Linked DNA regions of Homo sapiens: all the other regions are linked to region 3. The links are contacts of gene promoters, found by promoter capture Hi-C in blood cells and fetal thymus (Javierre and others, 2016). All regions are on one chromosome and are shown on one strand. Each heading gives the region's core, a stretch centred on a gene start or on the middle of the fragment in contact. The rest is flanking DNA. Distances are from core to core; before and after follow the strand shown.

Evidence for each region. The method cuts DNA at HindIII sites, captures the fragments that hold promoters and counts their contacts. A CHiCAGO score of 5 or more calls a contact.
Region 1: a contact is called between the fragment with the promoter of SELENBP1 here and the fragment with the promoter of CELF3 in region 3, in 2 of 17 cell types (M1 macrophages and M2 macrophages). The highest score is 7.5, in M1 macrophages.
Region 2: a fragment that was not itself captured here is called in contact with the fragment with the promoter of CELF3 in region 3 in 1 of 17 cell types (erythroblasts); the score reaches 5.5 in erythroblasts.
Region 4: a fragment that was not itself captured here is called in contact with the fragment with the promoter of CELF3 in region 3 in 12 of 17 cell types (M0 macrophages, M1 macrophages, M2 macrophages and 9 more); the score reaches 12.4 in M0 macrophages.
Region 5: a contact is called between a fragment that was not itself captured here and the fragment with the promoter of CELF3 in region 3, in 1 of 17 cell types (erythroblasts). The highest score is 6.7, in erythroblasts.
Region 6: a contact is called between a fragment that was not itself captured here and the fragment with the promoter of CELF3 in region 3, in 1 of 17 cell types (M2 macrophages). The highest score is 5.4, in M2 macrophages.
Region 7: a contact is called between a fragment that was not itself captured here and the fragment with the promoter of CELF3 in region 3, in 2 of 17 cell types (M1 macrophages and M2 macrophages). The highest score is 6.1, in M1 macrophages.

What each region holds. Positions count from the first base shown.
Region 1 is chr1:151,370,427-151,374,157 of GRCh38, reverse strand. SELENBP1 (selenium binding protein 1) reads left to right here and starts at 1,453. Exons shown (of 12, transcript NM_003944.4): 1 at 1,453-1,520. The coding sequence starts at 1,517. RefSeq lists enhancers at 932-1,515, 1,516-2,099, 2,846-3,516, 3,517-3,731. The HindIII fragment of the contact is 17,083 bases long and covers 1-3,731 here.
Region 2 is chr1:151,295,823-151,300,011 of GRCh38, reverse strand. PI4KB (phosphatidylinositol 4-kinase beta) reads left to right here. Exons shown (of 12, transcript NM_001369623.2): 9 at 939-1,204. Among named protein-coding and RNA genes, the nearest start is that of ZNF687, 16 kb to the right of the region's middle. RefSeq lists an enhancer at 3,507-4,189. The HindIII fragment of the contact is 2,461 bases long and covers 1,626-4,086 here.
Region 3 is chr1:151,715,186-151,719,137 of GRCh38, reverse strand. It overlaps CELF3 (CUGBP Elav-like family member 3), which reads left to right and starts at 2,335. Exons shown (of 13, transcript NM_007185.7): 1 at 2,335-3,262. The coding sequence starts at 3,118. It also overlaps a transcript of RIIAD1 not described here. RefSeq lists an enhancer at 2,111-2,405. The HindIII fragment of the contact is 2,919 bases long and covers 1,450-3,952 here.
Region 4 is chr1:151,410,757-151,415,058 of GRCh38, reverse strand. It overlaps POGZ (pogo transposable element derived with ZNF domain), which reads left to right. Exons shown (of 19, transcript NM_015100.4): 11 at 2,663-2,763; 12 at 3,288-3,434. Among named protein-coding and RNA genes, the nearest start is that of PSMB4, 13 kb to the right of the region's middle. The HindIII fragment of the contact is 318 bases long and covers 2,140-2,457 here.
Region 5 is chr1:151,314,570-151,318,830 of GRCh38, reverse strand. It overlaps PI4KB (phosphatidylinositol 4-kinase beta), which reads left to right. Exons shown (of 12, transcript NM_001369623.2): 2 at 2,322-3,258. The coding sequence starts at 2,350. Among named protein-coding and RNA genes, the nearest start is that of PI4KB, 11 kb to the left of the region's middle. The HindIII fragment of the contact is 375 bases long and covers 2,157-2,531 here.
Region 6 is chr1:151,389,166-151,393,484 of GRCh38, reverse strand. No RefSeq gene overlaps it. Among named protein-coding and RNA genes, the nearest start is that of PSMB4, 8.2 kb to the left of the region's middle. The HindIII fragment of the contact is 9,586 bases long and covers 1-4,319 here.
Region 7 is chr1:151,352,940-151,357,130 of GRCh38, reverse strand. No RefSeq gene overlaps it. Among named protein-coding and RNA genes, the nearest start is that of RFX5, 7.8 kb to the right of the region's middle. The HindIII fragment of the contact is 5,255 bases long and covers 1-4,191 here.

The DNA.
Region 1 (3,731 bases), core at 204-2,703, 340 kb after region 3:
AGAGGGGAGGGCCAGAGGGAAGGGTGAAGGCAGGGTGAGTGGAGGTAGTCAGGACAGGAGGAAGCTGGCAAAGACAAGGAAGCAGCCTTCAGGGCCTTCCCCGTGGGGCAGCTGCACACACAAGACTCTCTTTGATGCCTGGCAGGCTGATGGCACAATGGTGAGGATAATAGATGCAGGATGGAGCCAAGAGGGGTTGAGTGGCGCTGGGGATAAGAGAAGACCCTTGCCCCGGGCAGCCACAGGGAGTCTTCCTTGATGGGCACATGATCCCTCACTGATGGGAGCCAGGAAGACAGATACCCAATGCACCAAGGCCCAATTTTGCTCCCCTTCCCCCACTCTGGTTTGGAAACCCTGTATTCTACTTGCAATCTCAAGCCCAGACTTTATTCTTTTTCCTAGCCAATAAAAACTTCACCCCAGAGCTTTTATCCAAAGAGTATGAATATCTGGAATAAGAGGGCAATCTTAGGGAAGAAGTGACCCTGGCTGATGGGCCCACAGTCCCGGGTGCCCCTAAATGCTAAGAGACAGGTCCAAATACAAAGACGAGCATTTGGAGACACAGGAACACATACGTGCGCAGGCTTACACAAGCACATGCACAGCCACATAGCCACACACTACACATACACAAGCACTTATGCACATGTCCACACAGGCGTAGATACTCTAGCAAGCACATACTCACAGAGGCGCGCACACACACACACACACACACACAGGCGTAGATACTCTGGTAGGCACATACAGAGGCGCGCACACACACACACGCACAAATACACACAAGCACACTCACAGGCACATTCACACACGTGGAAATTCACACACAGGCACAGATACACACTCATGCAGGCACGTGCACGAGCAACACGCAGGTATACAGGAACACACACATGCCCAGACACACAAATCCACACACACCCAGGCACCCACTAAAGAGCACGAGCTGGTCAGGGGCAGCGGCTCACACCTGTGATCCCAGCACTTTGGGAGGCCGACACGGGTGGATCACCTGAGGTCAGGAGTTTGAGACCAGCCTGGCCAACATGGTGAAATCCCTTCTCTACTAAAAATACAAAATTGCTGGGCATGGTGGTGGGTGCCTGTAATCCCAGCTACTCGGGAGGATGAGGCAGGAGAATCACTTGAACCCAGGAGGCAGAGGTTGCAGTGAGCCGAGATCGCACCACTGCACTCCAGCCTGGGCAAGAGTGAGACCCTGTCTCTAAATAAATAAATAAATAAATAAAGCACAGGCTCCCACACATACACACTTAAACACATACACGCACACCCCATAATTCAAACACCAGTTGCCCTAGGCCACTTGAGAGTATCCTGGCCAGCTGCCCTGAGTAGTTTACTCTGGGCTACAGCCCGGGCCCTCCTCCTTCTCTGCCCCACCCCCAGCTGGTTGTATAAATTCCCTCCCTTCGCTCCTTCCCCGGAACAGCGGCCTCTGACACCAGCACAGCAAACCCGCCGGGATCAAAGTGTACCAGTCGGCAGCATGGGTAAGGAGAGGGGTTTCCAATCACCCATTGCCTGCTCTGTCTGCCCCTAATTTGGAAGGCCCTCCTCCAGAAAATGCTAGAAAACCTGAGTGGGGAGCTGGGGAGGGAGTAGTGGACTCTGCTTCATTGTCCCCAGTCTGCACACCCCCTCCCCCACCACCCCACTGCATTTCCCAGCTCAGCCAAACTTTCTGAGGAAGACGGGCAGAGGCACTGCTGGGAGATGGGATCCTGGGCCCTGACTTGGCTCCATCCAGCAGAGGCTGGGACCAGGGTGCCTTTCTGCAGCTGGGAAAATCAGATGGGCGCTCTTAGAAAACACCACTAGGTCCCTGGCCCTCACATAGTAGAGAGGTGATCCTGATTTCAGCCATGGGCCAACTTTGTACTCCAGCGAGGTAGGGAGTCCAAAGCCTTTCTGTGCCCAGGTCACTCTCTAGCTACTCCACACAGCAAAGCTCTCTGGGAGGGAAATCAGAGACCCCCACACTCTTTCACTGGGGACCTGTTTCAATGCCTCCCCCACCCCTAAATCCCCCTTGGCCCTGCTATTCCTCCATCTGTAGGCTTCTGGGTGACAGGCTAAGAAGGAACTGAGGTTTGGTTGGGAGGTCCTTCCCCGCTCGGGGCTGGCTCTTGAGCTGGCAGAATGCCGAGCTGGCAGAATGCCCAGCAGCCAGCCTGACATGGAAAACCCACTTGAGCTTTCCATGAGTCCATCCCAAACCCAAAGCTGCTCCGAGACCTTGCTTGAGATGTTTCAGATGGGGGTATTCCCCAGAAAGAGGAATGATGCTCCCTGGGGCTGCAGTGGCATGCCAGGCCTGACCCTAAGAAATGCTGGGGCTGGGGTTGCTGGGGTGTGGGGTGGGCCGAGGCTGCAGAGCGGGCAGCTCCATCTCTGCACTTTTACTTCCCTCTCAGCTTCTCCCTAGCTTTGTATTTTTTGTATCTCTGTCTTGAGGTCTTGGAGTTTTAAAATCTCCTTTCCCTTCTGTATCCAGCAACCTCCTTCCCCACCCCCTGTCATCTGGTGCCAAGCCCCGACTTAGCAAGATTGTGTAACAGAACCAGTCTCCTTAACTCCTGTGAACTGGACCTCTCTCTCTCTCCCTGCCCCACCTCCAGCCCTCTCGCTGGGCATCGAGCACTCCCTGGCATTCTCCTCTCCTCTGGCACAGCCCTTCCCATATTTACACAGTAATTCATTATTTTTTTTTTTTTTTAGTCAGAATTTCACTCTTGTTGCCCAGGCTGGAGTGACTGCAGTGGCGTGATTTCGGCTTACTGCAGCCTCCACCTCCCAGGTTCAAGTGATTCTCCTGCCTCAGCCTCCCAAGTAGCTGGGATTACAGGTGTATGCCTGTATTTTTTAATACAGGCTAATTTTTAATACAGGGTAATTTTTGTATTTTTAATAGAGACAGGGTTTTGCCATGTTAGTGAGGCTGGTCTCAAACTCCTGACCTTAGGTGATCTTTCCGCCTCAGCCTCCCAAAGTGCTGGGATTACAGGCATGAGCCACCGCACCCGGCCTAATTCATTTTTATGAAAGGCCTTTGGAATACATTGTCTTATTTGTCCTCCATATCTACCTAGCAAAGTAGGTAGAATATCATTATTGCCCACTTTTCGTAAATGAAGAGGAGAAAATGGAGAAACGGGGCGTCAAAACTGGGACTTGAAACCAGGTTTCCAGACTCTGAACGCTGTTGCTGCCTCTCAGCTTCCTAAGTCTCTTGGCTGCTGCGAGTGGGAGTCCCAGGCCCCAGTGGAGGCCCCACTCTGCCTACTCCTGGCTCCCCACTTGCGGCCCAGCTGTGAAGGCAGAGGCTGGACTGGCCACAGGACAAGGCAGGAGACAGGGCCCAGGCCTGTGGACTCCACTCCAGGGTTTCTTTCAGCCTGCCACCCCCTCTGGGTATTCTTTAACCCCTGCTCCCCAGCAGGCCCCAAACTCTGATGCTGGGGTGCTGGTAGCTGTGATGTCCCAGCCCTACTGCACATCTGCTGACTTACATCCTGGAGATTAGCATGGCCCCTCTTGCCAGACTTCAGAGATAGGGAGGGTTGCTCCCTATCTCTCTGGTGGGCAGGCCTCTGGGCTCTCCAGAGTTGGGCCAAACACCTTACTTTACAGATAAAGGAAGTGGGGCACACCCAGGGGTAGAAACCAGCCTGAGGACTTCCAGTTGGTATTAGCCCCAGACC
Region 2 (4,189 bases), core at 1,607-4,106, 420 kb after region 3:
CTCAATTTTTGGTTTTTGGCATATATCCATTATTCAAACTTAATGCCTCTAATTTTAATGCCAACACAATTGGTTGTAATCAAATTTTTAAATAATAATAATTTGGTCCTCCCCCCTTTAAAAAACAACATAAAAACTTCCCAAATTGGTCTGTAGCAGGTAGGTTATAGTGTGCTGAAATATTGATCTTCTGATACCCCTGGGTTGGTCACCTGCAAGCCACTTAATTGTTTAATACTGTTCTTTATACCATATAAATATTTTCATTTTCCAGAGAAGTCTTCTCTGGACCTAAATCCTTTCCTTTTTTCTTTTTTTTCGTCGGAGAGAGTCTCGCTCTGTCGCCCAGGCTGGAGTGCAGTGGTGCAATCTTGGCTCACTGCAACCTCCACCTCCTGGGTTCAAGCGATTCTCCTGCCTTAGCCTCCTGAGTAACTGGGATTACAGGCATACACCACCACGCCTGGCTAATTTCTGTATTTTTAGTAAAGACGAGGTTTCACTCTCTACTGAGGTTGGCCAGGCTGGTCTTGAACTCCTGACCTCAGGTGATCCGCCCTCCTTGGTCTCCCAGAGTGCTGGGATTACAAGCATAAGCCACCGCACCTGGCCTCTTTTTTCTTATTATTTGAACTTACAGCTCCCATTCTCCCTGCTTGAGAGGGGATAGTGAAGTTTCCTGTTCTCCCTGCCTGTCTTGGGCTTTCTACTTAGGTGATACCTTTTCCCACATACCTGAGTGTAGTTTCTGACTTTGTCAGGCCCTAGACTTCCTTTCCAAACTCCCTGGTCCTCACTGGGTTAAGTGAGTCTTACTCATTTGATGGCTTAGAATTCAATGCTACCAAGGAGAGAGGCTGGAGAAAGGGAAGAGTTTTAGCCTTCTTCTCTAGTTTGGAGAAAGATAAGAGTCCTGTATCCTCCATGTCTCCTCACAGTCCATTTGGGAACAGGAGCGAGTGCCCCTTTGGATCAAGCCATACAAGATTCTTGTGATTTCGGCTGATAGTGGCATGATTGAACCAGTGGTCAATGCTGTGTCCATCCATCAGGTGAAGAAACAGTCACAGCTCTCCTTGCTCGATTACTTCCTACAGGAGCACGGCAGTTACACCACTGAGGCATTCCTCAGTGCACAGCGCAATTTTGTGCAAAGTTGTGCTGGGTACTGCTTGGTCTGCTACCTGCTGCAAGTCAAGGACAGGTAGGTGACTTCTGCTGCTCATCCTAACATTTCTCCAGGGTTCTCTCTGTCCCTTCGTGTGTAGTTCTCAATTACTTATTACTGCCCTCCATGGCAAAGATGTGAAAAATGAAACAATGTATTTTAAGCAGAGACAGATGTGTTCCCATGACATTAAGTCAGGAGGCAGACTAATAAGAACTAGGGTAAAAGGGCAAAGAAATGAAGGATTTATGGGAGGACTAAGGGTTTGAGTGAGCAGGGTCTTCAAGGACAAGGGAAAATGATGACAGAGGAAGCTGCAGGGGAGGTACATCCCAGCTAGAAGAAATAATTGAATGTGATTAAAGCACAGACTGCACTGCATGGCAGTGGAGTAGGAGGTGGTACCATGAGGCAGGTAAATTGAGGCCAGTTGAAGAAGGGCCTTCATTGTGAAGCTTAGGTGTTTTATTTTGCAGGCAGAGGAATGACATGATCCAGTCTGTGTTGATTAAATGCCCTGTGGCACTGTGGGTGAAGGTGGATGTAATTGGGTGTTTAGCAACAAAGCAAGAGATAATAGGGCCTGGCACTAAGGGTAGTGGTTAGTGACTGAGAGCAGAAAGGAGAAACATGATGGAGATGAAGTGGAAACTCTCAGCCATGAACTCTCCTCACTTCTTATTCCAGCATATGATTTCCACAGCTTTTAAGTATCTGTTGTTTTGCCCAGAGCTGTCATTTTTTTTCAATATGACATGACCTTGATGAAAACTAACTACACATATAGGTGAGGCACATAATGTACAAAAATAATTACACCATCTAGGCCCTGCCTTCTAAGAGTATCTCCCAACAGTGACCCAGGGTCTCTGCCCTGAATGCTCCTATGAGTTCCAGCTCTAGACCCTCGGCACAGGGCAGCTGTCCTGGAAAGGTGGAAATGCAATGGCCAGTGCTGCTGGGGCTTCCAGTAACATGGTGGCCCATTAAGATCTAGCTAATAATGGCTGGGTGTGGTGGCTCATGCCTATAATCCCAGTACTTTGGGAGGCTGACACGGGTGGATCACCTGAGGTCAGGAGTTTGAAACCAGCCTGGCCAACATGGTGAAACCCCATCTCTACTAAAATACAAAAAGAAAATTAGCTGGGCCTGGTGGCAGGCGCCTAATCCCAGCTATTTGGGAGGCTGAGCAGGAGAATCACTTGAACCCGGGAGGCAGAGGTTGCAGTGGGCCAAGATGGCACCATTGCACTCCAGACTGGACGACAAGGGTGAAATTCCAACTCAAAAAAAAAAAAAAATTTATATATATACATACACATACATACATACATTAGCTGGGCTTGGTGATGCACACCTGTAATCCCAGCTACTCGGGAGGTAAGGCAGGAGAATTGCTTGAACCCAGGAGGTGGAGATTGCAGTGAGCCAAGATCATGCCACAGTACTTTAGTCTGGGCAACAAAGCGAGTCTCAAAAAAAAAAAAAAAAAATCTAGCCAACAAGGCCGAGGCAGGAGGATCGCTTGAGCCCAGGAGTTCGAGACTAGCCTAGGCAACATAGTTAGATCCCGTCTCTACAAAAAATAAAAATTAGCCAAGCATGGTGGTATACAGCTGTGGTCCCAGCTACTTTGGAGGCTGAGGTGGGAGGATCACTTGAGCAGGAGGTTAAGGGCAACAGAGTGAGACCCTGTCTAAACAAAACAAAACAACTAGCTAGCTAGCTAGCTAACAGAGCAGCTTATTAGAAATGTAGCATCTAGGCTGGATGCAGTGGCTCACGCCTGTAATCCCAACACTTTGGGAGCCTGAGGCAGGTGAATCACCTGAGGTCAGTAGTTCAAGACCAGCCTGACCAACATGGCAAAACCCCATATCTACTAAAAATACCAAAAATTCACCAGGCGTGGTGGCGCATGCCTGTAATCCCAGCCACTCAGGAGGCTGAGGCAGGACAATTGCTGGAACCCGGGAGGTGGAGGTTGCAGTGAGATGAGATCGCGCGACTGCACACCAGCCTGGGTGACACTGAGACTCCATCTCAAAAAAAAAAATAAAAATTAGTCTTAGGCTGGGTGTGGTGGCTCACGCCTGTAATCCCAGCACTTTGGGAGGCCGAGGTGGGCAAATCGCCTGAGGTCAGGAGTTTGAGACCAGCATGACCAACACGGTGAAACCCCATCTCTACTAAAAATAAAAAATTAGCTGGGTGTGGTGGCGGGCGCCTGTATTCCCAGCTACTTGGGAGGCTGAGGCAGGAGAATCACTTGAACCCAGGAGGCAGAAGTTGCAGTGAGCCAAGATCGCACCATTGCACACCAGCCTGGGTGACAGAGTGAGACTTCATCTCAAAAAAAAAAAAAAGAAATCTAGCATCTATTAAGTTCTGCCATGGCCTGACATTCTTATATTTAAACCAGATGAAAACCCTGTCAGACACGTGTTTCCTCATGAGGGAAATAACAGTCAGGTAGCTTTTAGACCCTGTGCTCATTCCACCCTGCGCTCATTCCACCCTGCCAGCCCTACAAATGGACCCAGGCTCTGCATTTGAGAGCTGTAGGAGAATGTAATATTTTTGTGTGTGTGTGTGAGACAGAGTCTTGCTCTGTTGTCCAGGCTGGAGTGCAGTGGCGTGATCTCGGCTCACTGTAACCTCTGCCTCCCAGAGTTCAAGTGATTCTCCCACCTCAGCCTCCTGATTAGCTGGGATTACAGGCATGCGCCACCACGCCCAGCTAATTTTTGTATTTTTAGTAGAGACGGGGTTTCACCATCTTGGCCAGGCTGGTCTCAAACTCCTGACCTCAGGTGATCCTCCTGCCTCAGCCTCCCAAAGTGCTGGGATTACAGGCGTGAGCCACTGCATCCGGCCGAGAATGCAATTATTTATAAGGAATTTGATTGCAAGCTTCAGACTATCTCAAAGTGTCAGGATTTTGAACTCAGGGCCCAGGGAGCCTAGAGCTCAGTCCTGGGATTGAGTAAATGGGTGGCAGGGAAGCTGGCACTAGTC
Region 3 (3,952 bases), core at 1,086-3,585:
GACCACAAACTAAGCAAAGGACTGGACGCATTTTGCTGTCTGCAGCTGTCTCCCCAATTACTGACTGGGAGGAGGAGTGAGGGGAGTTCATTTTAATTCATTTTTGTGAATGTTTAATATTTCAATTAATATGATTAGCCCCAAGCCTGAATGAGCAGCAGGGCGGCAGATCTGCTGAGAAGACATAGAGTAATGAGATCAACAGGGCCATAGGGTCTTCCCCTTCTCCATCCTCAGAGGACATGATCTGTTTAGCATCTCCATAAATACCAAGATCAGATTAGAAGGCAAGGAAAGGAGCAGTGGGGGTGGGGTAGGTGAGTGGAAAGTTACTTTCAAGATGTGTGTGCCCTTCTTGATTCCCTGGCTCTGCCGTCATTCGCTTCTTCTGAGCACCCACCACTGAGTCCTCTAGCACCTCCCCCCACTGCCACCCCATCTTAGGGGACCCTACTTGGGGGACCCGGGCATCCATGTGATGAAGTGTAATCAAGTCTACACACATACACATTCACTCAAATGCAAGCACCTGCCAGAGCGTGGCTCCAGGCCACAACAAAAAAACAGGCTAAGGAAGGATGGGAGGTGGTCCACAGAATCAAGCAGTAAAAAGAAAGACTCTCTCTCATCCAGGGCTTAAATGGAGACAGAAGAGGAAGAAAGGCCAGACTTCACCACTGCTCCCATTCTCAAGAGGAATGTTTGATGTGGGAGTTAAATGCGTGGACTCAGGAGCCAGACTGCCCAGGCTCCAGTCTCAGCTAGACCTCTTTCTAGCTGCATGGCTTTAGGCAAGTTATTTCAGCTCTGTGTCTTGGTTACCTCCTCTCTATTTGGAGATGACAAAATCTACATCATAGGGGGGTGGTGAGGGTTTAGGAGTTAGTAAATATAAAGCACTTGGCACAAAGCCTGGGACACTGTAAGAGCCATGTAAGCACTGGCTGTTACTATTATTTCCCTTCCAGAAGAGAAGCCTGCCTGCCGTGATAGCTCAGGAATGGAGGCCCCTGGGACTCAGCTGGGACACAGTTTAGAGACACGAGTGCCTCTGTGGAAACAGCAGCCCTACCCCGGGGGAGAAGAAGGGAATGACAGGAAGACAGGGTGCTCTACAAAAGCCCAGAGCCCCAGGAGAGCCCCCGTTGCTGAGCACTGACAGAAAGCAAGGGCTACCACCACTGACAAGGTTTGATGTCCACAGATAATCCCTGCACTGAGGGCGTGCTCTGAGTGGGCCCAGTGCATGGAGGGGTCACGCTCCCTCCAGATCGTGGAGCCTGCCAATCATCCATAGAAGTATCCATGGTCAGGGGAGCAATGGTCCCCGAATGTGCCTCCCCTGCTCTTCTGTGCTACCTGGCTCAATTTGAGTCCAACTCAAAGAACCCAACTGAAGAAAGAAGCAAAGGAAAGAGTAATTGGGTTTCTGCATCCTAAGGGGAAGCTTGACAGCTGTGGTTCTTCCCACTGAAGGAATCAGGAATCCACTGTTGTCAGAGGTTGTTTGCATGGAGTGTTTGTTAAGCTCCTGCTACGCATGAGCAAGACAGGGTGCTAGACACTGTGAACAGTAAGATGCTGAATTAAACGGTGTCCTGGTCTTCAAGGAGCTTACAAGTGAGAGCGCCCGCGGCGCCGCCTCCGCGGCCTCCCTGCCCACGCACTTATACACACAAACCCCCCAGAGGGAGAGAAGGGGGCATCGGCAAATGCCAGAAAGCTATCGTTTTTCTTGGTTCCTTTTCTGGAAAATATACAGTTCTCTTTCTGCATTCTTCTCATCCTGCTCCTCCTTCTCCACGTCCCTTTCCATTTTTCCTCTCTGCATTTTTTCTTTTTCCCCCAGACTCTGCGACCTGCTTCCCTCTCCATCTATATCTCCTTTCCCTTCAGCCTATGCAACCGTCCTTTCTCATTTTTCTTTCCCCTGATTTCTTTCCTTGACTCTCTACTCTTGGGGCTCCCCAGATGCCGGGCTCCCCTCTTTCCCCGCCACCCCCCATCTGCTGAGTCTTCCAGCACCGGGGACAGCTCCAGCCCCCGGAACAATGGACCCCACTTTAGGGTTCCTCTATAAATTCTCCATCTTAGTGCTTTGCCCAACTCCTGACTGGGGAGTAAGATGGGGGAAGGGTTATTATCAACAGGACCAGCTGCTCTTCTGGGGGCGGGAAGGGAGTCAGGGAGGATGGAGATAGAAAGAGGGCGTGGCTCGTGCCTGGATTGTGCGTCCCTCTCCAGGGTAGAGAATTTGTATTCGACCCCTGAGACTGACATCACTGATGTCAGGGGAAAGGAGGTGGGAGTGGGGAGGGGGGTGTGGAGGGGGGAGGTTTTTGTTGAGGAGAGCGCGGCCGGAGAGCAGAGCTCCGGGACCCAGGTGACCGGGAAAGCAGGCAGCCCCAGCGGCGGGAGCAGCCGGCAGCAGCCCAGGCCCGGGGACTGGGGTGGGGGTGGGAGGGGGGCTGAGGGGAGGACCTGAAGGGGGGCGGCAGGGCAAAAGGGACCCCTGGAGCCCTGCCGCCATCAGAGATCAAGCATCTGGCATCAGGGATCTTCGGACCCAGCAGAAGGATCCGCCACAGGGGAGGTGTCCTCCCAGGGAAGCCAACGAGAGATTCACCTGCCCCACATCAGGAGTGGGCCCCCCTTACTGACGCTGCTGGCAACCATAGCAGGCCCCTTAACCCCTCAGTCTCCTCCCCATCACCCTCCTCAGGCCCTTTCCCCGCCTCCAGCTCTCATCTCAACTCCCAGTTCCCAGCCCTCTAAGCCCTAGCACCCCCGGCTACCACCTAACCCTCCAGGTCTTGGCCATACTCACCCCCATCCTGGGACATTTGCCAGATCTCTGGGAGGGAGATCGTTTGTTTAGGCGATGCCCCCTGGTGGCATGACAGCGTCTGCCTAGACCCCTGACCCCTAGCACTCAACTCCCTGGGCCTCCTTTGTGTGAAGAGCCGCCCCTCTGCTTAGCAGCGTGGTTGGGGGCCAAAGGGAAAGCCAGCCCCAGCTGGGCCCCCGGGCCCCACCACTTATCTCCTTGCTGGGCAGCTCCCCTTGGCCTTTGGGCCTCTCCCTGCTCCCCTCGGCCCCTCCTCCTGGGCCGCCTCAATGAAGGAGCCGGATGCCATCAAGCTGTTTGTGGGGCAGATCCCGAGGCATCTGGAGGAGAAGGACCTGAAGCCCATCTTCGAACAGTTTGGTCGGATCTTTGAGCTGACTGTCATCAAGGACAAGTACACCGGGCTGCACAAGGGTGAGGGGTCGGGCAGGCTGAAGAGGCTTCGGGGTGGGCTGGGAGGCTGGGGGAAGTTAAGCCAGGCTGGAGGGGTGGAGCGGCTGGGAAGGGCTGATGTGGAAGGAGAAGAGTTCAGGCCTGAGGAAAGTGGATGGAGGAGCTGAAAAAGAACTCAGCTAGAGTGATCAGGAAACCCCGGTGAAGGACTAAGGAGGGCCTCTTTTGGCTGAAGAGTTGTCAAGACGGCTGCAAAGATGTGGATCCCAGACATATGGGTGTGTTGATGTCATGGGATGAACTCAAGAAAGAATGGAGGGACAAGAGAGCTGGTTTGGGAGATAAGCAGCTGGGTAGGGGTGTGTGTGTGTGTGCGTGTGCAGCAAGACTGAGAATCTGAGCAGCCTCAGATAATATTGGGATGGGGGTCAGGACACAGGGTCAGGTGTTCAATGTGGAAAGCGTGGAGCTGGACTGGGCAGGGCAGCTCCAGGACTAAAGAGAGGGACTAGGAAGCAGGGCATGAAGGCTGGAGATTGGTAAAGATCTGGAAAGTGTGGGAGGCTTAGAAAGTTAAGAGAGTGGGGGAGAAGGGAGGGTGCTCCTCAGGCCTATCCAAGGGCTGTGCGGCTAAGTGGGGGCGGTCAGGGTCAGCACTTGGAGAGCTCCACACACCGGGGATCCCAGGGGCCACACCAGCTCCCCCTCCAC
Region 4 (4,302 bases), core at 1,049-3,548, 300 kb after region 3:
AAGCAGCAGAAGTTACAGTTGTTCATGCCTATTTCCTCAAAGTAGGAGATTGTGTTAGGTGTTAAGGAGGGTGATGGTGCTCAGAGGGACAGTTAGGACAGCCACCATGGAGAATCAATTCATTTTCCCTCTTGAATCTTTTTCTGTATTAGCTCCTTCCCCTGTAGAACTGATGTGTCAAAGGTTACCAGAGATCTCTTAAATCCCCTTATATTTGAGTTCCTACCTCACTAGTTTTCTTGAGATAACACAATGTAAATCTTTTTTTTCTTTTTTTTGAGGGAGTTTCGCTCTTGTTGCCCAGGCTGGAGTGTAGTGGCGCCATCTTGGCTCACCGCAGCCTCTGCCTCCCAGCTTCAAGCGATTCTCTTGCCTCAGCCTCCCAAGTAGCTGGGACTACAGACATGCATTACTGTGCCCGGCTGATTTTGTATTTTTAGTAGAGACAGGGTTTCTCCATGTTGGTCAGGCTTGTCTTGAACTCCCAACCTCAGGTGATCCGCCTGCCTTGGCCTCCCAAAGTGTTGGGATTACAGGCATGAGCCACCGTGCCCAGCCAACACATGTAAATCTTAACCTGATGCTTGTACATTAGAAATTGCTTAATAAGTGTTTTTATTATTGATGTTGCATGACAGCTGTGAAAATAGAGCTGATAAATAGGTTATAGGAGAAAGAGTGAATGAGATTGCCCAGGGAAAACATAGACTAAGAAAGGCCTGGACAAAATATTGCTTAAAGGTGTTCTAGAAGAGAAAAATGAGAGAGGTAAACAAATCGGGGGGTGAGTGGAAAAGAGATAATATCGTTATGTTGCTAGTTAACTGTTTCCCAAACATGTGGTTAACTTTCATACCTACTTGCCTTTCCTCCTGCTTTTCTCTTGGTCCTCTCTCTGGCTGGCTGAGCCCCATTCTTTGACAATTCAGCTTTTATATGTTGTTATAGCTTTTCCTCATTCCTTTATGCAGAATTTCTTATTTATCCATGTCCTCATAGCACCTAATGTACCTGTAGACAGTGTTTCTAAATGGAGTTGCAGACCTCTTTGAGAATAAATATGAAATGTTTGAATCCTCTTCCTAGAAAAATCTACATTTTACTCTTTTGCAAATAATTTCAGAGAAAGCCTGGATTCCTAGAGGCCTGTTCCATAGACCCCAGATTAAGAACCCCTGGCTTTTGTTTGTTTGTTTTACTTTAAAAAATTACTTGGCTAGGCACAGTGGCTCATACCTGTAATTCTGGTACTTTGGGAGGCTGAGATGGGAGGATTGCTTGAGCTTGGGAGGTCAGGGTTGCAGTGAGCCATGATTGAGCCACTGCGCTCTAGCGTGCGAGACAGAACGAGACTCTGTCTCAAAACAAAAATCCAGGGTTCTCGGTAGTTAAAAAAAGAAAAAAGAATTATTTCAACTTTATTCATATTTCTTTGGCTGGGGTGTAGGGGGCTGGGGGCGGGGGGAGGTTAGACATTGTCCAGTAAATGCCCAAGGCTTTAAGCTTCCAGTTTTCATATTTGCAAAAACTTGAAACTAATTCCATTAAAGTGACAAAAATGTAAATAATCTCTCTCTTTTTGCCATACTGTATAATTAAAAATATGTAGCAGTTAAAAGTCTTACCAAAATTGGCCGGTGCACTGGCTCACACCTGTAATTCTAGCACTTTGGGAGACTGAAGTGGATTGACAAAAGGATTGCTTGAGGCCAGGAGTTTCCGACCAGCCTGGGCAACATGGCGAGACCCTGTCCCTACAAAAAAAAATTTTTTTTAATTACTTGGGCATGGTGGTGCACCACTGTAGTCCTAGCTACTTGGGAGGCTGAAACAGGAGGCTCGCTTGAGCTCAAAGGATAGTCCTAGCTACTCAGGAGGCTGCGGTGAGCTATGATCATGCTCCAGCCTGAGCAACAGTGAGATTCTGTCTCTTAAAAAAAAAAAAAAAAAAAAAAGCCCAGGCACGGTGGCTCACACCTATAATCCCAGCACTTTGGGAGGCTGGGACAGGTAGATCACCTGAGGTCAGGAGTTCGAGACCAACCTGGCCAACATGAAATTACCAAAAATTGTCTCAGAAGTTTGACAAAATTGTTCATTTGTGTCATAAAATTTTGTCAAAATTTTTTCTCATAAGCTTGACAAAATGGACAATTTCAAAGAGAGTAGGAGGTATTGGAGGCCAGCTGATTAGCAGTGGGAAATCATATGGGCTAGTACCAAGTTTTTGCCTTATTATAAGTATAGAGAAGTGACAGTTCCTACATGCAGTTTGAAATAATGGTGACAGAATGCAGGGTTTGGAATCCGAGATAGTGCCTAAATTTTGAGCTCAGGAAGAAATGGGGAAAGGAAAAAGGGAAACAGTGGTAAGACAGGAGGATGCTGAATTAGGTTAGAGTTGACGATAGAATAACCAATTTAAAATGTCTTATAGATAAAATCTAGAATGAAGCTTTGGTAAGAAGTCTGAGCTACGTACATAAGATTATCAGCAACATATATGTTAAGGTGGAGCCATTTAAAGAAAGAACAGAAGGGACCTATGATTTACTGATTGTTGAAAATCAAAATAAAGGAGGCAGAGAAAATAAAGATTGTGAGTCAGCAGGACTTTTGTCTTATTTTCAAGTGGATTTATTGATTACTTTTCTTCTTACAGCCAAGTGCAAGATCTGTGAATGGGCGTTTGAAAGTGAGCCACTATTTCTCCAGCATATGAAGGATACTCATAAGCCTGGAGAGATGCCTTATGTTTGCCAGGTATTGCCTTTTTCTCCAGGGAGTTTTAGCAGTTTTGCCCTCAGGAAGAATACAAAGAATTTACTAATGAATATTGTTGACCACCTACTGCATACACTCAGTTTAGGAACTCTGAGTAGGTACAGAAGAAATAGTAAACACAGTTTATCTTCAGGGTTTCCATGCAGGAGAAAAACATAAAAGAACATGTCCACAAGTAGACTAGCCGGGAACATGTGCATATTCTAAGGGAGTGTCTGTCTCCTGAACGTGCCCTTTGGAAATTGACAGAAAAGGCTTTATTTTTCTTAGTTAGAGAACATGGATTATTCTTAGACTTTCTGTCCCTTCCTATTTTTAAAGTAATAGCTAAACCTATCACAAACATAGCCCAGCATTACAAAGTCAGGAAAATAATTTGATTTCTATGCATTTGAGAAAACTTTTTTTTTTTAATTTAAAAATTTTTGTTGCTACCTTTTTTTTTAAGGCCTCTCAGTTGTTCACTTCATTCTTAGCCTTATTTTCCCTCCTATGTGACTCAGGTGTGTCAATATCGCTCCTCACTCTACTCTGAGGTAGATGTCCATTTTCGGATGATCCATGAGGATACCCGGCATCTGCTCTGCCCTTATTGCCTGAAGGTCTTCAAAAATGGCAATGCATTCCAACAGCATTACATGAGGCACCAGGTACTAGGCACCAAGCAATTCCCATATTCTCTTGTTTTTTTTTTTTTTAAACATGGATGCTGGGGCCAGGGCTGAGCTAGGCAAATAATTTGGGCAGAGATTATAATATGCATATGTTTGCAGAAATTTATTGAATTCACTTAATGTGCCATGTACTAGTCTAGATGCTAGAGATTTAGTAGTAAACAAGGCAAACAATACAATAAAACATGAAGAGTACTGTGTTGGGGAAATTATAGGATATAGAAAATCACATAGCTATTCTGGGTGCCTAGTAAGGCTTCCAGAAAGAAGTGTTGTTCAATACCTGAGGGATGAATAAGAATGAGCCAGATGAAATAAGACGAAGAACAGTGTGCCCAAGGCACAAAGCAAAATTGTGGAGGTTCAAGAAATTGAGAGAGATTCAGTGTAGGGTGTAAGAGACAGAGGGGTTGGAAGTTAGGCAGGGACAGATCATGGAGGATCTTTTAAGCCATGAAAAGAATTCACTGGGAAGCCACTAAAGGGGTTTTAAGCCCTGGAGTGATGTGTTCAGCTTTAGTTAAGGCTTTATACTGCCTGCACTGCAGAGAATGGATTAAAGGAGATTGAGACTACAGTTAGGGAAACTAGCTAGAAGGCCTTTTTCAGTAGTTTAGGTGAGAGATGATAGTGGCTATTGGCTTTTGAAATAAAAAGAGGGTAGAGTTGAGAGATATTCAGAAGATTTGTGATATTTATGATGTAGAGATGGATTAGGTGAAGGTAGCAATGCAGTAGTTAAGAATAGTGCCTAAGATTCTGTCTTGGGCAGTTGGGTGAATGAGGGAACTATTTGCTGAAATAGAAACAATAGAGAAAGTATATTTGTGAGGGGGGAGATCAT
Region 5 (4,261 bases), core at 1,095-3,594, 400 kb after region 3:
TTACTGGCCTTTATTTTCTGGGAACTTCGAGTTTAAAAGGGAAGGTAAAAAAATACCTGTAACCAGAAAAATATATCAAGACTTTAATTTTATTTATTTATTTATTTATTTATTTATTTGAGACAGAGTTTCGCTCTGTTGCCCAGGCTGGAGTGCAGCGGTGCGATCTCGGCTCACCACAACCTCTGCCTCCCGGGTTCAAGCGATTCTCCTGCCTCAGCCTCCCAAGTAGCTGGGATTACAGGCATGCGCCACCACGCCCAGCTAATTTTGTATTTTTAGTAGAGACGAGGTTTCTCCATGTTGGTCAGGCTGGTCTCGAACTCCTGACCTCAGGTAATCCGCCTGCCTCAGCCTCCCAAAGTGCTGGGATTACAGGCGTGAGCCACCGCGCCCGGCCTTTTTTTTTTTTTTTGAGACAGAGTCTCACTCTGTCTCCAGGCTGGAGTGCAATGGCGTAATCTCGGCTCACTGCAACCTCCACCTCCCAGGTTCAAGCAATTCTCCGGCCTCAGCCTCCTGAGTAGCTGGGATTACAGGCGCCTGCCACCACGCCTGGCTAATTTTTGTATTTTTAGTAGAGACGGGGTTTCACCATGTTGGCCAGGATGGTCTCGATCTCTTGACCTCGTGATCTGCCCACCTCGGCCTCCCAAAGTGCTGGGATTACAGGCGTGAGCCACTGCGCCTAGCCAAGACTTTAATATTAAATAAAGATGGCTGGGCAAGGTGGTTCACACCTGTAATCCTAGTGCTTTGGGAGGCTGAGGCAGGAGAATTGCTTGAGGCCAGGCGTTCAAAGCTAGCCTGGGCAACACAGCAAGACGCCATCTGCACAAAAAAATTTTTTTTTAATTAGCTGAGCATGATGGCACACACCTAAAGTCCTAGCTACTCGGGAGGCTGAGGCAGGAGGATGCCTTGAGCCTAGGAGTTCAAGGTTACAGTGAGCTATGATCATGCCACTGCACTCCAGCCTGGGCAACAGAGCAAGACTTGTCTCTAAAAAATAAAAATAAAGGTGAGATGCACAGGACCTGTGTGTAGAATGTTATATGAGTAAGGAAATATAGTCTAAAGTGGAAAATAAAAAGGTTATAGCAGGCATTTAAAGGGAGACAGGAAGAGCAAGTGGATAGAAAAGTATTTGAAGAGTTAGGGAACAAGGGAGTAACACCTGACTTGCTTCTCAGTCTACCCGAAGAATCTGTAAATCACCAGGCATGGTGGCTCATGCCTGTAATTCCAACACTTTACGAGGCTGAGGAGGGAGGATTGCTTGAGCTCAGTTCAAGACCAGGCTGGGCAACATGGTGAGACCTTGTCTCTACAGAAAAATTTAAAAAATTAACCAGGCATGGAGGCACATGCGTGTAGTCCTGGATACTTGGGAAGCTGAGGTAGGAGGATTGCTTGAGCCCAGAAAATCAAGGCTACAGTGAGTTCTGATCGCGCCACTGCACTCCAGCCTGGGCAACAGAGCAAGACCCTGTCTCAAAAATAATAAGATTAAAAATTTAAAAATAAGCCAGGCATGGTGGTGTGCACCTGTGGTCCCAGCTACTTGGGAGGCTGAGGTGGGAGGCTTGCTTGAGCCCAGGAGGTCAAGGTTGCAATGAGCCCAGATTGTTCAACTGCACTTCAGCCTGGGTAACAGAGCAAGACCTTGTCTCAAAAAAAAAAAAAAAAAAGAATTTGTAAATGTAGGCCAGGTGCAGTGGCTCACGCCTGTAATCCCAGCACTTTGGGAGGCCGAGGTGGGTGGATCATGAGGTTGGGAGATGGAGACCATCCTGGCTAACATGGTGAAACCGTGTGTCTACTAAAAATACAAAACAAAATTAGCTGGACGTTGTGGTGGGCGCCTATAGTCCCAGCTACTTGGGAGGCTGAGGCAGGAGAATGGTGTGAACCCGGGAGGCGGAACTTACAGTGAGCTGAGATTGCGCCACTGCACTCCAGCCTGGGTGACAGAGCGAGACTCCGTCTCAACAACAACAACAACAACAACAACAAAAAGAATTTGTAAATCTATATAAATACAACATATACAAAACAACATTTCACATATATAAGCTAAGAACAGAGGCTAAGCTGAGTAACTACAGGAGGAATGACGAGTAATGTAATCAGAAGTGGAGGTAGTCAGGAAAGCTTCCTAGGATATGTCTTCTTATCTGATTTTGAAGGAGTCCAGGAAGACAAAAAGAGGAGGTGCCTGGGAAGGTGTCATAGCAAAGGGAAGATCTGAGGATGGCACCACTAACCAATGTGTGTATGTGTCTCCCTTTCTGTTCTTTTCTCCCTCCCTCTTCCTGTAGCTTGGAAGCTCGAAGTCTGGCTGTGGCCATGGGAGATACAGTAGTGGAGCCTGCCCCCTTGAAGCCAACTTCTGAGCCCACTTCTGGCCCACCAGGGAATAATGGGGGGTCCCTGCTAAGTGTCATCACGGAGGGGGTCGGGGAACTATCAGTGATTGACCCTGAGGTGGCCCAGAAGGCCTGCCAGGAGGTGTTGGAGAAAGTCAAGCTTTTGCATGGAGGCGTGGCAGTCTCTAGCAGAGGCACCCCACTGGAGTTGGTCAATGGGGATGGTGTGGACAGTGAGATCCGTTGCCTAGATGATCCACCTGCCCAGATCAGGGAGGAGGAAGATGAGATGGGGGCCGCTGTGGCCTCAGGCACAGCCAAAGGAGCAAGAAGACGGCGGCAGAACAACTCAGCTAAACAGTCTTGGCTGCTGAGGCTGTTTGAGTCAAAACTGTTTGACATCTCCATGGCCATTTCATACCTGTATAACTCCAAGGAGCCTGGAGTACAAGCCTACATTGGCAACCGGCTCTTCTGCTTTCGCAACGAGGACGTGGACTTCTATCTGCCCCAGTTGCTTAACATGTACATCCACATGGATGAGGACGTGGGTGATGCCATTAAGCCCTACATAGTCCACCGTTGCCGCCAGAGCATTAACTTTTCCCTCCAGTGTGCCCTGTTGCTTGGGGCCTATTCTTCAGACATGCACATTTCCACTCAACGACACTCCCGTGGGACCAAGCTACGGAAGCTGATCCTCTCAGATGAGCTAAAGCCAGCTCACAGGAAGAGGGAGCTGCCCTCCTTGAGCCCGGCCCCTGACACAGGGCTGTCTCCCTCCAAAAGGACTCACCAGCGCTCTAAGTCAGATGCCACTGCCAGCATAAGTCTCAGCAGCAACCTGAAACGAACAGCCAGCAACCCTAAAGTGGAGAATGAGGATGAGGTAAAATTCTGGGGAGGGCCAGAGACAAAAGGTGGTAGAGGGCTGCATGGAGACAGGATGCCTCCTATATACACACAGGGTTACGCTGTTCTTTCTGTCCTCCCTGTTTCATTTCACTGATAAAAGCATGGAATGTTAGAATGGAAAGGCCTTAGAATTCATGTATTTTGCCTGCCTTAGTTTACAAAGGAAGAACTCAGACCCAGAGAGATAAAGTGAGTTGCCTCAGGTCATATAGGTCATGGCAAGGCTGACGCTCCTGACTGTGTCCCAAATCATTTTTATTAAACTGCACTGGCCAGGCGCGGTGGCTCACGCTTGTAATCCCAGCACTTTGGGAGGCTGAGGCAGGCAGATCACGAGGTCAGGAGTTTGAGACCAGCCTGGCCAACATGGCAAAATCCCATCTCTACTAAAAATACAAAAATTAGCCAGGCGTGGTGGTGGGCGCGTGTAATCCCAGCTACTTGGGAGGCTGAGACAGGAGAATCACTTGAACCTGGGAGGCAGAGGTTGCAGTGACCAGAGATCGCGCCACTGCACTCCAGCTTGGGCGACAGAGTGAGACTCCGTCTCTAAATAAATAAATAAATAAATAAACTGCCATTCCATTAACATCTACTATGTTAATGAGAACTGTGGCAGAAGCCCTCCACACCCTGACCTGAGACTTGAGATAGCTACCAGAGCCTCTCAGAGCAGCATCTGTGGGAAAGGAAAAGGTACTATTGTCTTTCTGTGTGCTGGGGTAGGGGAGATGTTAGAACATCGGCTTCATTCTCCTGGCCACTCCTCCTCATAATCTAATCCCTTTTCACTACCCTCTGAAGATCCTACCTTTTGTTGACATAAGTGTAAGGTTTATTTCTTATCACTGAGGCATCTGGAGAATGCCTTCATTGCCTGCCTTTCCTTAGGGGGAAGAGTGCCTTGCTGGTATCTTTCCCATACCATTTGGGAGAAGCACAAAGGGAAGAGAAAGCACTCTTAGTATAGAGTAAAT
Region 6 (4,319 bases), core at 1,263-3,762, 330 kb after region 3:
TATTAAACCTGTACACTGAGTTCTTAATTTCAGATTTTTTTTCAGTTTTAATATGTTCATTTGACTTTTTTTATAGATTCTATTTCTCTGTTTAAATGATCCGTATTTTCATCTATATATTCATCATTTTCTCTATTTTCCTTTACATGTTAATTGTAGTTATTTTACATTCTTGAATGCTAACTCTAATATCTGGATCATCTGTGGGTCTGCTTCCATTATCTTTTTTTTTTCTTTAATTTTGGTCACGTTTACTTTTGACTTTGCAAGTTTTACAATTTTGTATTGTTTGCCAGAAATTATGAGTAAATATAGAGGAGCCATATCATATCATCTTCTACCAAAGAGAGTTTTCCCTTTTTTCTATCAGGCAGATAGAGTAAGGATCTGATCACTTCAATTCAATCTGGGATTAGACTGTGACAGGACTGGGTTGCTGTTTCAGCCTGGTTCATCCCCCTTCTCACAACCTTTTGTTGTTGTTTTGAGATGGCCTTGCTCTGTTACCCAGACTAGAGTGCAGTGGTGCAATCATGGCTCACTGAAACCTCCATCTCCTGGGCTCAGGTGATCATCCCACCTCAGCTTCCCTAGTAGCTGGGACCACAGGTGCGTGCCACCATGCCTGGCTAATTTTTCTTTTCTTTTCTTTTTCTTTTTTTTTTTAAGAGATGGGGGTCTTACTATGTTGCCCAGGCTGGTTTTGAACTCCTAGACTCAAGCCATCCATCCACCTCAGCCTCCCAAAGTGCTGGGATTACAGATGTGAGCTACTGTGCCCGGCCTCTCACAACCTTTGATTGAAAACTGGACAGGTATTCATCCTCTCTGCCCTGAAATACGGAATGATATTGAGCTAGCTCTCCAGGCTTCTACTTCATGCAGACTCAAAATCTGGCAAATATCTTGAGGAGGAGAAGACCAGTTGAGTAATTGAGGCTCTTCTCCCTGCTCTGCCTCAGCAGATCTTCATTTTTTAATCAATAATTCCAGACCATAGGAGATTCAGTCTGCCTTTTAGGAGCTTTTAGCCTGACTCTCCAGGCTCCTGCACATTCCCAGTGTTCAGCAAATATTCCATAGGTAAAACTGGCCATAGTTAGAGGCCCCTTAAGTTTCCAACTTGCTTTGCATGGCCACCAGAAACTTTTGATGGTCTTCCCAAGGAGAGGCATTCTGTCTAGGTTAAACCCAATCCTAAGTATATACTCAACTCACCTCAGAAAAGTTCTCCCCTCTCTGAAATTTTAGTTCATCTAGTCTTCATTCCTTCCTCAGCCCTTTGGTGGCATTGCTTAAAATAAGGCCAGGCACAGTAGCTCACGCCTATAATCCCAGCACTTTGGGAGACCAAGGCTGGCAGATCACTTGATCCCAGCAGTTCAAGTTCAAGGCCAACATAATGGGACCTTATCTCTACAAAAAAAAATTTTTTTTAATTAGCCAGACCTGGTGGTGTGCACCTGCAGTCCCAGCTACTCAGGAGACTGAGGTGGGAGACTGGCGTGCACTCAGGATGCCGAGGCTGCAGTGAGCCATGATGGTGCCATTGCACTCCAGCCTGGGTGGCAGAGAGAGACTCTGTCTCAAAAATAAGGAATAAAAATAAGGCCAGGCACGGTGACTAACACCTGTAATTCCAGCACTTTGGGAGGCCGAGGCGGGCAGATCATGAGGTCAAGAGATCGAGACCATCCTGGCCAATATGGTGAAAACCCATCTCTATTAAAAATAGAAAAATTAGCTGGGCATGGTGGTGGGCGCTTGTAATCCCAGCAACTCGGGAGGCTGAGGCAGGAGAATCGCTGGAACCAGGGAGGTGGAGGTTGCAGTGGGCAGAGATCACGCCACTGCACTCCAGCCTGGCAACAGAGTGAGACTCCATCTCAAAACAAATAAACAAATAAATAAATAAATAAAAATAATAAAGTTGAAAAGAATAAACACACATTCAGAACACGTTATTCCCCTGAACCACTAGGCCTGGCCCACCCCGTTCTGAGCACCTCTCATACTGGGAAAGCTCACAACCAGGAATGCCCAGAAGATCAACAGTTTACACATTCAGTTCTGTACCCTCTGTTCCTCTGATGTTCTACCTTCAAGGGTTCACTGAACTGTGTAACTCCCAAGTTCTGGAATAGGGAGAGGAAATTTTGTGCTCAACCTCCACACCCTTCTCAGACCAGTGAACCTGTCTGATTATGGATATTCAGATTTTCCCCTAATCTGTGCTAAATCAAACAAATAAAATCAGAGACTGGCAATGAGAAGGGCAGTTCTAACATGCTTCCTGCCAAGATTATGCTCCAGAGTCATAGTCCTTTAGTCGGGGTAGATTAGAGTCAAGGTTTACACCTCTAGGCAAAGGTCACTGAGGTTTGAGGCAATGTTTAAGGCTTTGTGCAGTGGCTCATGCCTATAATCTCAGCACTTTGGGAGGCCAAGGCGGGTGGATCACCTGAGGTCATGAGTTCGAAACCAGCCTGGCCAACATGATGAAATCTCGTCTGTACTAAAAATACAAAAATTAGCCGGGTATGATGGCGGGTGCCTGTAATCCCAGCTACTTAGGAGGCTGAGGCAGGAGAATCACTTGAACCCGGGAGGTGGAGGTTGCGGTGAGCCAAGATTGTGCCATTGCACTCCGGCCTGGGGAACAAGAGTGAAACTCTGTCTCAAAAAAAAAAAAAAAAAAAAACTTGATAGCACCTAATAAAACTGAAAATTACACATGCTAAATTACCCAATAAACCTATAACATAGAGACACTCACATGTACACGTTAGGAAACATTCAAGAATGTTCATCAGAGCATTGTTCGTAATAGCAAAAAAATAGAAACAGTCTAAATGCTCATCAAGGGGGAGTAGATAAAATGCAGTATATTATTACAAAAGAATACTACAAGGTAGCTTAAAGGAAAGAACCTAACATATCAAACACATTGTTGAGTGAACCAGATAAACCACAGAATGACATATATGATATGGTACCATCTGCGCTAATTTAAACACACAAAACAACACTAAGAATGTGGGCAGGCGAGGGTGGGGGATGCGCGCGCATGTGTGTAAAATTGAGTCATAGTGGCAGTTGAAAATGAGTTTTATATAGTCTTACTTATAATGACACTCTGGGAAAAAAGTAAGGAACTTCTGAAACATTTTCCAGCAATAAAAAATAAATGAAAGCGGCCGGGCGTGGTGGCTCATGCTTGTAATCCCGGCACTTTGGGAGGCCAAGGCGGGCGGATCACGAGGTCAGGAGATCGAGACCATCCTGGCTAACACGGTGAAACCCCGTCTCTACTAAAAATACAAAAAATTAGTCGGCGTGGTGGCGGGCGCCTGTAATCCCAGCTACTCGGGAGGCTGGGGCAGGAGAATGGCGAGAACACGGGAGGCGGAGCTTGCAGTGAGCCGAGATCACGCCACTGCACTCCAGCCTGGGCGACAGAGCGAGACTCCGTCTCAAAATAAATAAATAAAAATAAATGAAATCTGCCAATTATAATGGAATTAAAGCAGGAAGTAGGCTTTCCTGGGGAAAGGGGAGGAAGGGAGTAACTTGGTCCCTGGAAAGGGAAATGGTGGGTTGAGAGAGGTTATAATACGATTTTAGATTTCAGCATTACTATAAAATTTTTTTTTGACAGATGAGTTCTCACTATGTTGCCCAAGCTGGAGAGCAGTGGCTATTCACAGGCAAGATCCTTATGCCACTACAAATGGCTTTGAGACTTTGAGAGAGACTCTGTTTGTTTGGAAGAAAATACAAGAAGAGAATAGGAATTTCTACCTGGTAATCCAGAGAATTATTTTGGCTCTTATTCAGGACCACCAAGGTGGTACTCTATGAGGCTGCAGGGACCACAGCATTACTGAGCTTGGGGTGCCGCCTAATGCAGAGACAGCTTAGATGACAACACCTAAGTCCCTTCAAATACCTGGAAAGCCTTCCCAAGAAGGACAGGTACGGCCGAGCGCGGTGGCTCACGCCTGTAATCCCAGCACTTTGGGAGGCTGAGGCGGACAGATCACGATGTCAGGAGTTCAAGACCACCCTGGCCAACATAGTGAAACCCCGTCTCTACTAAAAATAAAAAAATAAAAAAATTAGCCAGGCGTGGTGGCGGGCGCCTGTAGTCCCAGCTACTTGGGAGCCTGAGGCAGGAGAATCGTTTGAACCCAGAAGGTGGAGGTTGCAGTGAGCCGAGATTGCACCACTGCACTCCAGCCTGGGCTACCCAGCGAGACTTTGTCTCAAAAAATAAAATAAAATAAAATAATAATAATAATAATAATAATAATAATAAT
Region 7 (4,191 bases), core at 1,039-3,538, 360 kb after region 3:
AAGCTGTAGTGCCAGTCCACCAGGACAAAGGATATAAGAGAGCATTGGGAGATTTCTATCCCATCGTTGGTCCTTCAAGCATTATCTCACACACTGCACTCCAGTAAGTCTCTAAAAGACAGCATCAGGCAATTGCACTCATCTCAGGGATTAGTGAGGTCCTCCTTCTCACATTCCTGCATCCAGTCCTCCCACTTTCATCTTCCAAGTGTTTGACCAGCTGGCTCCATGCTCTGGATATCTGCTCTGTGCCTCCTCTGGCATGCTCTTAGGAGTCCCTTCCCTGACTTCCTTATTTTGATGTGTGGCAGACTCTCTACTCTCAATACTATCTGACCTAGAGGAATGTGTGCAATACATTGTTCATGAAAAAAAGTAATCGTAGAGTTATGTGAATAATTCTATAACTATAGTATAATCCCCAGTTTTAAAAACAAATTCAACCACAATAGCAACAAAAACTTCTATTTAAGGCCAGGCGCAGTGGCTCACGCCTGCAATCCCAGCACTTTGGGAGGCCAAGGAGGGCAGATCACTTGAGGCCCGGAGTTTGAGACCAACCTGGCCAACATGGTGAAACCCCATCTCTACTAAAAATACAAAAATTAGTTGAGCATGCTGGCACACACCTGTAGTTACAGCTACTCAGGAGGCTGAGGCAGGAGAATCGTTTGAACCTGGGAAGCAGAGGTTGCAGTGAGCCGAGATTGCATCACTGCACTCCAGCCTGAGCAACAGAGCGAGACTCTATCTCAGAAAACAAAACAAAACAAAACCTCTATTTAAGTGGCCCTGTGTTTGCAATGACATGGAAGTGAATACGGCAGGATACTTATCAGAACATGTTACCTCAGAGGGGTGAGATTTTTTATGAAACTTGACAAGCTCTTTCTAAAACTAGCCTGGAAATGCGAATGTATACTGTTCCAGTTACCTAGTGCTGTGTAACAAACTACCCCAAAACTTAGTGGCTTAAAGCAATGACAACATTACTTTTGCCCACAGATCTGTAGTTTGGACAGGGCTCAGCAGGAACAGCTTGTCTCTGCTTGGTGTCAGTGGAGGCAGCTTAAAGGCTAGAGGCTAGAATCATCTGATAGCTCACTTACTCACATGTCTGGAGACTCATGCTGCTGTCACTTGGACCTTCAGCTGGGGCCAGAACATCTACACATGACCTTTCCATATGGCTGCTTGGCTCCCTCACAACATGGTAGCTGGGTTCCAAGAGCGAGTGTTCCAAGAGAGAGCAGCAAATGTGAAGGTGTGTCACCTACTCCAGCCGACACTTGACAGTCACACAGCATCACTTCCACCACATTCCAATTACTGAGCCTGTCACAAAGGCCTTCCCAGGTTCAAGGAAACAGGGGACTAGACTCCATTTCTTTCATTTATTTATTTATCTATGTATCTATCTGTTTATTTATTTATTTATTTTTGAGACGGAGTCTCACTCTGTCACCCAGGCTGGAGTGCAATGGCATGATCTCAGCTCACTGCGACCTCTGCCTCCTGGGTTCAGGCAATTCTTCCGCCTCAGCCTCCCACATAGCTGGGATTACAGGCACCCGCCACCACATCCAGCTAATTTTTTGTATTTTTAGTAGAGACAGAGTTTCACCAGGTTGGCCAGGCTGGTCTCAAACTCCTGACCTCAGGTGGTACACCTGCCTCAGCCTCCCAAAGTGCTGGGATTACAGGTGTGAGCCACCATGCCCGGCCGACTCCACCTCTTGACAGGGAAGTTGTAAGGTTCTGAAACAGTGTGTGGAACCAGAAACATTGTGGCCACATTTGGAAAATACAATCTTCCATATATAGGAATAATTTTTTTAGTTAATAAAACCAATAACAGAAGACTCTCAGCATTAGATTTCAAAATATACTATACTTTGAAATATAGTATTTCAAAACATTAACTAAAACAGTGTGTTATGGGTGGAGAAATAGACAAAAAGAATCAACAAAAGAGACATGCGCCTATAATCTCAGCTACTCAGGTCACCAAGGTGGGAGGATCACTTGAGCCAAGGAGTTTGAGGCTGCAGTGAGCTAGGATCCTGCCACCGCACTCCAGCCTGGGTAACAGAGTGAGACTCTGTCTTAAAAAAATAAAATTAAATTAAAATTTTTTTAAAAAGAGAGGCTAAGATCCAGAAATACACCTAACTATACAAGGAAACTTAGTATACAATAAAAGCATATGATAAAACTGTAAAAGGAAACAGTTAAAAGAAGAAGAAAATGATAGTATATATTGAAATGGCTGGCCATTCATTGGAAAACAAGCATATTAAATTAGATGCTATGTAAGGTGTTACTAACTGCCAAACAACCATTCCCAAACTCTTTTCCCTTGCTCACTATAGGTAACTTCTATCCTTAATTTTATGGTCATGATTCTATTGCTTTTTATTAATTATTTTTACCACCTATGTATTTACCCATAAACAATATATTGTTCAGTTTTGCCTGATATTAAATATTTATAAATTGCATTGCACTGTATGTTTTCTTCTGGGTTTTGGTTTTTTCACTTTCTGAAGTTCATCCAGTGGATGTGTGTGGCTGTAGCTCATTAATTTCCACTGCTCTATGACATTCCATCCAGTGAATATATCACAACTTATCATTCTAGGGTTGACGGATATTGGGTCATTTCCAGTTTTTGCTAATGCAAGCAGTGAGACTATAAACTTTACTGCCTGTGTTTTTAGGGCATATGTCTAAGAGCAGGATTACTGAGATATTAAATGTAAATTGAAATACTCACATATTCGACTTCACCAGGTAATATCAAACTATTTTCCAAAACAGTTTTACCAAATTACACTCCCGCAACAGTGAATGAAAGCGCTTGTTGATTCATAACCATGTCAACCCTCAATATTGCCAGACTTTAAAACTTTTGCTGTGGCTCACACCTGTAATCCCAACACTTTGGGGGGCCAAAGTGGGCAGATCGCTGGAGCTCAGGAGTTCAAGACCAGCCTGGGCAACAAGGTGACACTCTGTCTACACAAAAAATACAAAAAAATTAGCTGGGTGTGGTACCGTGCCTGTGATCCCAGCTACTCGGGAGGCTGAGGTGGGAGGACTGCTTGAGCCCAGGAGGTCAAGGCTGCAGTGAGCCATGATCACGCCACTGCACTCCAGCCTGGGTGACAGAGCAAGAACCTGTCTCAAATAAAAAAAAAAGCCAATTTAGTGGGTGTGAAATGGTATCTTCTAAAATTTGCATTTTCCTGATTATTACATAGGGAATAACTTTTCATATGTTTATGAGCCATTTCTGCTTTTTTTGTGAAATTCCCATCCATTTTTCTAGTTTGTTATCTTTTTTTTCTTTTTCTTTTCTTTTTTTTTTTTTTTTTTGAGGCAGAGTCTCACTCTGATGCCCAGGCTGGAGTGCAGTGGTGCGATCTCAGCTCACTGCAACCTCTGCCTCCCAGGTTCAAGCGATTCTCCTACCTAAGCCTCCCAAGTAGCTGGGACCACAGGTGTGCACCACTATGCGCAGCTAATGCTAATTTTTGTATTTTAAGTGGAGATAGAGTTTCACCATGTTGGCCAGGCTGGTCTCAAACTCCTGGCCTCAAGTGATCTGCCCATCTCAGCCACCCAAAGTGCTAGGATTACAGACGTGAGCCACCATGCCCAGCTGGTTATCTTTTTTTGTAGGAAGTCTTCAAAAATTCCAGATAATAATCCTTTGTCAGTTATATGTCTTGAAAATATATTCTCCCAATTTGCAGCTTGTCTTTGTATTCTTTTTTATTATTGTATTGTATTGTATTTATTTATTTATTTATTTTTACCTATTTTTTTGAGACAGGGTCTCACTCTGTTGCCCAGGTTGGAGTGCAGTGGCGCCATCTAGGTTTACTGCAACCTCCGCCTCCCAGGTTCAAGTGTTTCTTCCGCCTCAGCCTCCCAAGTAGCTGGCATTACAGGCACACGCCACCACAGCCCAGCTAATTTTTATAATTTTAGTAGAGATGGGGTTTCACCATATTGACCAGGCTGGTCTTGAACTCCTGACTTCAAGTGATCCACTCATCTCAGCCTCCCAAAGTGCTGGGATTACAGGCATGCGCCACTGTGCCCAGCTGTTCATTTGTTTCTTTCTTTATTTATTTTTGAGACAGAGTCTCACTGACACCCAGGCTGGAGTGCAGTGGTAAAAAA